2 separate regions of the Homo sapiens genome follow, and region 1 is linked to region 2. The links are contacts of gene promoters, found by promoter capture Hi-C in blood cells and fetal thymus (Javierre and others, 2016). All regions are on one chromosome and are shown on one strand. The core of a region is centred on a gene start or on the middle of the fragment in contact, and the rest is flanking DNA. Distances in the headings are between cores, read along the strand shown. Region 1 overlaps ARL15 (ARF like GTPase 15). Region 2 holds the start of PDE4D-AS1 (PDE4D antisense RNA 1).

Evidence for each region. The method cuts DNA at HindIII sites, captures the fragments that hold promoters and counts their contacts. A CHiCAGO score of 5 or more calls a contact.
Region 1: a fragment that was not itself captured here is called in contact with the fragment with the promoter of PDE4D-AS1 in region 2 in 1 of 17 cell types (monocytes); the score reaches 5.7 in monocytes.

The regions. Positions count from the first base shown.
Region 1 is chr5:54,303,094-54,307,635 of GRCh38, forward strand. All of the region lies in intron 1 of ARL15 (ARF like GTPase 15), which reads right to left. Among named protein-coding and RNA genes, the nearest start is that of ARL15, 5.2 kb to the right of the region's middle. RefSeq lists an enhancer at 1,579-2,242. The HindIII fragment of the contact is 5,398 bases long and covers 1-4,542 here.
Region 2 is chr5:59,037,945-59,042,130 of GRCh38, forward strand. PDE4D-AS1 (PDE4D antisense RNA 1) reads left to right here and starts at 1,822. Exons shown (of 2, transcript NR_198970.1): 1 at 1,822-2,126. It overlaps PDE4D (phosphodiesterase 4D), which reads right to left. Exons shown (of 15, transcript NM_001104631.2): 6 at 915-1,027. RefSeq lists a silencer at 1,191-1,260. The HindIII fragment of the contact is 4,461 bases long and covers 1-3,197 here.

The DNA.
Region 1 (4,542 bases), core at 1,402-3,901, 4.7 Mb before region 2:
TTAATACCATCAGGAGATTTTGCCCAGCTGAAGTCCATAAGCAACAGGCTGCTTATGGCCTAGTATCTATTGGGAACAGCTGACTTCCCAGGCAGTGCGTGGCAAAAGAACATAGCACAGTCTCAGTACCTCTTCAAAAGAAATGGGGCTGGGCACAGTGGCTCACGCCTGTGATCCTAGCACTTTGGGAAGCTGAGGTAGGTGGATCATTTGAGGTCAGGAGATTGAGACCAGCCTGGGCAACATGGTGAAACCCCGTCTCTACCAAAAAATACAAAAACTAACCATACGCCTGTAGTCCCAGCTACTCAGGAGGCTTAGGTGGGATAATTGCTTGAACCCGGGAGGCAGAGGTTGCAGTGAGCTGAGATCAAGCCACTGCACTCCAGCTTGGATGACAGAGTGAGACCCTGTCAAGCAAGCAACCAAGAAAAGCAAGAAACAAACAAACAAACTGGGACTTGGGGCAGGTAGGAATGTGCCCCTGAAAGTGACACTAGGGGACTGAGTAAGGAGATCGCACCACTGCACTCCAGCCTGGATGACAGAGTGAGACCCTGTCAAAAAAAAAAAAAAAAGAAGAAGAAGAGGAGAGGAAAAAAAGAAGAAAGAGGAGGAGAGGAAAAAAAGAAGAAAAAGGAGAGGGGAGGGGAGGGGAAAGGAGGGGAAGGGAGGGAAGAAAAACGAAACAAAACAAAACTGGGGCTTGGGGCAGGTAGGAATGTGCCCCCAAAAGTGACACTAGGGGGCTGAGTAAGGAGGTTGCCTGAAAATCTATATGTGGTCACCTGGTGGAACACTAGATGCTGAAGATCACCTCAGTGGCTATGACCAGGGTATGGAGACTGTAAGGCAGGAGTTCCCAGCACACAACATAGTTCTCTTCCTAGCCAGCCTTCTCTGTAACAATCACCTGCCAGAGTCCTTGGGGACAAGGGCGCATCAGCCTGCCTGCTCATGGCCACTGCTTTCTTTAACATAGTAGTGGTCAAGGACCACTTTTCTGTACCTGTTTACTTAAGAAGCAATATACTAAAAATTTTGAGTGCATCCCAACTGCCTTAACACCAAGCTGCCTGAGCCTCTGCCTAGCACAAGGGAACTACTTGTAGGTGGAAGGCAATGAAGAGGGAGGGCCCTGGGGCCACAAGCGCAGTTCAACTACTTGCTAGCTGTGTGAACTTGAGGAAATTACACAACCTCCCTGAGCCTCAGTTTAATGCTATTACACATGCAAAGCACTTAGAACACTGGCACAGAGTAAGTGTTCAATAAATGTTAACTGATTTTGCCCTCCTGATTATAACTCATATACTTATCTCCTCTCACCCCCGACCTGAGCACTGCCCACATGCCAACAAGCATGTGGCTTTGGCATCTTTCAGAATGCAAGCCCCTGGAGGGCATGAATCAAGGTCCCTATGTGTCCTCTCCTAGGGCTCATACTGTTAGACTGGAGCCACAGAAGTTTGGGAACCAGACTTAACACCTTTGTAGAAAAGTTCCTACCTAATGGTACGGATTTGCTCAAAACATTTTTGCTATATGAACTCCATATATGGTAGATCTGTTTATTGTGCTCAGATAATTTTTATCTTATAAATTATTAAGAAAGGAATATTTAATATGACTGCCTAATCCACTCGACATTTAGACTAAAAAGTGACCTACATTATCACTTTAAAGTTAGTCACAATAAATACAACTTACAATGTTCATAGATATTCAGGGTTAAAAACAACGAAACAATGTACTTTTTTTTTTATCAATAAAGAAGTTCAGTTCACAGATAACTGAACATAATATGAAATCACAAATGTACCTTCACTCCTCTTTTCAAGTAGGATCCTTTACAATTTCATAGTGCCTGTGGGCTCTACCCTTTGTAGCACATCATGGGTTTCTATTGTTGGTTAGTTAGCTGGTTTTTATCCTGCAAATGGTGACAGATTTGTGATGATCAACCCAATTCTCTCACCACATCTTCCCCACTGAGACATACATTTTTATGATGGCAGATACAGCCTATAACCAAGAAACTAAATAGGTCAAGTCCACCAGTCTATACAAAGAAATCTTATTAAACTAACCTATCAAATCTAATCTTATTAAATCCCAAACACTGGCAGGGCACGGTGGCTCACTCCTGTAATCCCAGCACTTTGGGAGGTCGAGGCAGGTGGATCACCTGAGGTCAGGAGTTTGAGACCAGCCTGGCCAACATGGTGAAACCCCGTCTCTACTAAACATACAAAAATTAGCTGGGCATGGTGGTGGGCACCTGTAATCCCAGCTACTTAGGAGGCTGAGACAGGAGAATCACCCCATTGCACTCCAGCCTGCATGACAAGAGCAAAACTCTGTCACAAAAAAAAAATAAATAAATAAAAAATCCCCAACACGGTACAGTAGTTTCCCCTCATCCATGGGGGATATATTCCAAGTCCCAGTGGATACCTAAAACCACAGATAGTACTGAGCTATCATAGAACTAACTAACATAGCACAGAGCACACTATATTTTTTCCTATACACACACACCTATGATAAAGTTTAATGTGTAAATTAGGCATAGTAAGTGATTAATAATAACTAATAATAAAAGTGAACAATGATAACAATATACAGTAATAAAAGTTATATGAATGTGGTCTCTCTCTCTCTTAAAATATCTTATTGTACTTTACTCACTTATTTTGAGACCTCGGTGGACCATGGTTAACTGAAACCTTGAAAAGTAAAACCGTGGATGGGAGGGTGGAGGCTACTATAAACAAATGCAATGAATATTAATTGACAATTAGCATCCAAGACTAATCAACCATTTTTACTTGTCACATTTTCAAGTCTAAGTTTATATTTTAGTTCACAATAAAACACACAAAATGAGAGAAATGTACTAGAAAGCAAAGAAGCACATCAGAAGCTACCCCCTCCCCTATGTGCCTTACTTAACCTGTCCTGCCACAGGTTCCTCTAGAGCCACACGACTGCCAGTCCTGCAGTCAAGGAGGATATTACAGCTGAGGGTTCATCCCGCATGACTTTCAGGGCCATGCAGAAAGTAAGGGCTCCATAAATATTTGTTGAATAGATAAATTATTCAAATGGGTTTTATTTTCGTAGCTTTTAAAAGATTCTTAAAAGAGTCTTGTGACTTCCTGCTTGTTGATTACAACTCCCAGTATTTCCATAAATTGAGACTAGTTTAAAAGGTATTTCAATACCACTAAGCAGTAACAGTCATTCTACAGGAGGTATAAAAGTAACATCAGCAACATAATCACAATACGTTAACTTTTTTTTTTTTTTTTTGTCTTGAGACGGAGTCTCACTCTGTCGCCCAGGCTGGAGTGCAGTTGTGCGATCTCACTGCAACCTCTGCCTCCTGGGTTCAAGCGATTCTCCTGCCTCAGCCTCCCAAGTAGCTGAGATTACAGGCATGCGCCACGACACCCAGCTAATTTTTCTATTTTAAGTGGAGATGGGGTTTCTCCATGTCAGCCAGGCTGGTCTCAAACTCCTGACCTCAAGTGATCCGCCTGTCTTGCCCTCCCAAAGTCCTGGGATTACGGGCGTGAGCCACCTCGCCCAGCCACACAATACGTTAACATTTTATATTTGAAAAGCAACGTACTGTTTACAAATGGCTTTCCCTCCACTATCTCATTTAATCATCATAGGTATTACACAGAGTACAACCAATTCTACCACTGTTGTTTTGATGGCGCAGAGGGAAAAAAGGTTAATTCCAGATCAATCATCACATGAGTCAAGACAGAAAATTTTGAACTGAAAGGAATCTAGAAGTTGATCTTGTCCAACCTCCCAGGAAAACTCGAGAAATGTGTTTTTCTCTTTCATTTTAACCTGACTATTTTCTCCTACCTTATCCAAAAAGCTCTGCACATTGTGTTACTAGTTCTACCTATGAGAAGAAAGAGTAAGATGCTGGTACTGCCTGTTGGGACAGCAGCTAAATGTTTACCCAGAGACTTGGCAGATGTAAACATGGCCTTTAAACCCCATCATGGAAAGGGGAAAAGTTGTGTGCCCTTCTAGGAAGATTCACTCATCAACTGGAAAACAGAGATTTTTATGTTTAAATTGCCACCCTGGCTAAAAGGATTATATCTTGATCATCTTCAAGTTAAGAGTAAAGGATACATTCTGCATTCCCCTGAACAAAACACCTAATCCAAACAGATTTTATCTTGTCTCAGTTTAAAAACTGGTGAAAAAAAGCAGAATTTTCCTTTCCATTTCATATTCATCTGATTCAACAAATAAAATATCGGGCCCTAACTATTAATACATGCCAGAAACCAAGTCAGGCACCGCACCAGGTGATACATCTAATTGATTAGGATTAGCAAATTTCTATTCTTTCTCTCGACTGAAATCAATAAAACCCTGTCTTAAATATTAAAGTACTATCCCTGTCCCTCACCTTGACTGTCACTTCTGAGAACATTTGTTTTAAGAAATCAACAGCGACCCGAAGATCAGTAGAGCTTCTTCATCTGTTTTAATATCTCAATC
Region 2 (4,186 bases), core at 572-3,071:
GACGAGGCAACTATTACTAATTGTCTCACAACATTACCAGTCCTTACTGGCTGAATCCTTCAGCCATCTGCATACGACATGCACAGGCAAATAGCCACTAAAAACATACACAATTCCAATTATCTCCTTGCATAACTAAAGACAAAAAGAACAGGAAATCCAAAAAATACAGCAAAACTGAAAACACTATACCTTGCCTTCCGTGCTATTTTAAGGCTGTCCCAGGCTGAAGGTTACTTCTCAGCCCTCAAAACTCCATTAACTGCCAAGACCAGCACCTTAGCACATATGGCACAGATGCCTAGTTGAAGCCTCCTTGTACTAAATGACCTCAAAAAACTGGGCTTTCTTTCCAAGATTAATGGAAACAAAAGTAATGATCATAAGGAACCTTCTAACTCTGTTAATGTTTCCTGCGGATATGTATGGCCAACTGAATATATAAAGGCTCAGTTCTTGCGGGGTACCCTGACAACTAGATGAATTAGGGTGAAGGTTCCAAGTTCGATGAACTCTTCTGAGTTTGAGTGCCCTAGGTGGTGACATTCAAGTGATTTCACAGACATCCACCAATTCTTATTTTCAACCGGGAATCCCAAGAACACCTTTAAACATGCAATGCCCATGGACCCTACTGGGTTTCTGCTGCAAGGGCTCAGTGTTACTTAGGAACCCTGTGTCTTGGGAGATACTTAAATTTAGCACGTCAAATTGCTTTTGGAAAATGTTTATCTGGCGTGACTAGGGGAGGCAAAGCAAGGAAACAGGAACCTCCCTCTAAGGAGCAGAATAGCCAACATGCAGTAAGCCTAAAAAACCTCTCAATTTATTTCCCGGGGCTATGGGTACCAGTGGCTCGCCGGCATGGGAATCAGCAGCCTGGGGGCACCAGTGACAGCAGAACCGGGGCTTACCTTGTTGGAGGCCATCTCACTGACGGAGTGCCTGGTCTGTAGGGTCTCTAGCTGGTCCAGACACCAGTCCAGCTCCTCCAGGGTCTCGCTGGCCAGTTTCTGGTAGGCCTCCTCTGCGAAGAGACAGGGAAAGGGGGACTCAGTTCTCAAGCGCTTCACGGGTCCGCTAGCGAGTTCAAAGGGGGCCATCCTGCCATACCCCGCCATGCTCGGATGCCCGGTGCCGGCACATGAGGGCTGCTCCTTCATATTGCCCAGCCCGGCAGTGCAACGGGGGCGGAGGCTGTGCTCGCGGGGCGGCCGGCCTCGGGGAGGCACGGTCTCTCCAGCTTGGCGTCTCGGGTCGGCCTCCAGGGAGGGCGTGCAAAGAGCGGCGAGCCAACTTTCACACAGCGACGCGAGCGGAAAAACCACTATGCGACTTTTCAACTGTGCGGCGGGCCCGAGTCCCAGTCCAGGAGCCCGGCTCTAGCGGATGGCGAGGGGGTGGCGAGCGCGCTTGGGTGCCCGCCCCGCAGAGGAGCGTCTGGTCCACAGCCGGATCTCCTCGGTCCCCAACCCGGAGCCGCGGCCCCACGCCCGCCCCGCCTGCCGAGCCTTCTGCACGGCACTTGAAGTGAATGAATCAGCCGCGGCCGGGTGCGCGGCCACCACGTTTCCTGTTTTCTTTCTCAACTCCTCGGGCGGCAGGCGCAGCGCGGCTCCAACGCCGCAGCTTTCCGGGAACACTCCCCCTCACGCCCCTCTCGGCCCTCGGCGCTGCCTGGCTCCTCCTCAACCCCCTTACGAAAAGATTCCGAATTGCAAAAGCCTGTCCCTGTCCGTGCCACCCGCCGCGTCCTTCCCCTCGAGCTCTGCCCCGGGGGCCCCGCCACCTCGCAGTGCCATCCCCCCGGCGCAGCCGGGCGCCACTCGCTTTGAAGTGCAGACGAGGAGGCGCGGGCGCGAGCGTGTGTGTCTGTGGGGCTGCTGTGGGACTGTCTGTGCTAGGAGAGCGGCGGAAAACCCGGCGTGGAGCGCCTGCAGTCCGCCGTCCGGGGTCGCGCCCGCCGCGGGGCTCAGGAGGGACCGGCACGCAGGCGCGCACGGCCGCGCACCTGTCTCGCTAGAACCCCGCGCGCCCCGCCGAGCCACTGCCCTCCAGGTTGCCCAGACCGCTGGAGCCTCTGCGACTCCACGACCGGCTGCTTCCTGCGAAGTTTCACAAACAAGGTTATTTAGGACCCTCAAGGTTTCTGAGGGTTTAAGTTTTAGGGTTTCTGGGGGTTCGTTTCTAAAGGCTTAGGATTCACCTACTTCAAGGAGGCAGGGTTGTGGGAATTAAGACCGCATTCTTTTTCTACCCAGCCCAGTCCCTACTAAGTACCAGACTTCTAAATGTTGGGGCGGACAGAAACAAGCAAACAAAATATACAATGTTGTGGGGTCGGAACGCTTTATAATTCACAAATTTGACAATAGGCTGCATTTTCATATGCCGAATTGCCTAAGAGTTCTCTTAAAGGAACAGCAATGTGAAAGAACCACATGGTAAGGAGAATTTACGCATGTCCTGCATACTACTCCTTTCCCCTGTGAATTGCATAAGACCTAGATGATCTTGGGCCAAGGAAGAAAATCTGGAAGGGTGTTTCTACCCACCATGTGCAGAGTACACTACAATTTTGAGAAAACGGAAAGACCATATTCAAAGGCATACAGAAAAGCCTGTTCTGTTTACAAAGGCTGACCCAGGGCACCAGGGACACTGTCCCTAAGCAGATCAGTTGTGGGAGAACTTTTCTACATTAGCATGCAATAAGCAAACCATTCATAGTGAGGAGAAGTCAAACTCCCAAGGGTCCATTTGATAAAACTTTGTCATTGTCGAGTGGAAAGAAGATACTGAGAAACTTACACTAAGTGGTGGGATCCCTTGTCTTTGTCTTTGAATCTACAGGTATTGGAGAAGAAATTCTGCCCTTGAAATTTAGACTCCATAAATTAACATGGCACAACAAATAAAGTTCATGGACTGAATTTAGGCTCCTGGGATTTTTGAGATAGCTTTTTATGTGAACTTTGTAAAAGTTAGAGTAACTTTTAAAGTAGTTGTTACATGTGCCACGTGGCTTATTGTTATCAAGAATACTTGAACTATTTACTGTTCACTTTGAGTACTCTAGGTTAAAATTTGCCTCTTTTTTGTTCTACTTCCTCCACCCCGCAGTCTATGTAAATATATACTTTAGATGGACAAACAACTGCCTAAACCTTGCCAGGTGAATTAAAGTTTCAGATTGAAGCTTTTTTTTCCCCCTTAACAAGCTTAAAGATATTAATAATTTTAAATGGTAAATATAAAATACCTGCTCTGTATAGCTTCCCCAATTCTAAGAATGTAAAAAATATTACATGCTTGTTATAAAAATTGAAGCATTACACACAAATATAGGAAGTCCATTGTAACCCCACACCCTAAAGATCACAAACAATACTTTCGCCTATGGCTCTAACACAATCATTTTCATTTTACTGAATAACTTCCATATGCAAGTATAGCATCACCTAGTTGCCATGGTAGTGCATCTACTATATGGTTTGGTTTTGATATTTTCCTCTCTCTCTCATTCCCATAATATAGGAATGTAGGAAATTTTAAGAGGACATTGACTTGTTTTATGATCATTTGAGCTGTCCATAGTTAGCCTATCCAGTGGATTAAAGATGCATAACCATTGTGTCTGGGATTTGTTCAGTGCCATCTTTTCAATCATTGGTTACAATGAAGCTGGGAGTCCCCTCTGAGGTTCGGCTTTCTGTGGCTCCTCTCCCCTGCACTCCAACTTTCTCAAAGCCTGAGCCTCAAGTGATTTCCCAGTAGCTAAGTAAACTGCCCCCTTCCTCCATCTTCACCAAGTTCCCAAAGCTGTTCAGACTCAGGCTTCAAATCTAACAGGATGTGGCTCCACACATTATATTTCAGTTGTTATTTTTTAATGTGGAAAATAATTCAGGAAAGTTTTGGCTAATGCTTCAAGACATCATGCACTTTATACACAGGATTTGTTCTTAAGAAGGTAGTATAGTGACAGGAGGAACAATTTACTTCAGAATATCCATTTTATGTCCAAGCCATGCACCAGCCACTTTTGACAGACAGGATTTGAGTATGATGATAAAATGGGGTAAGCATATATTTTAAGTTCTAACATCTGTATAAATAAGAAAAATGAAAAATCACTGGAACACATCTACATGCTAGTGAGAAAATAATTACTAACAGAGTAAAG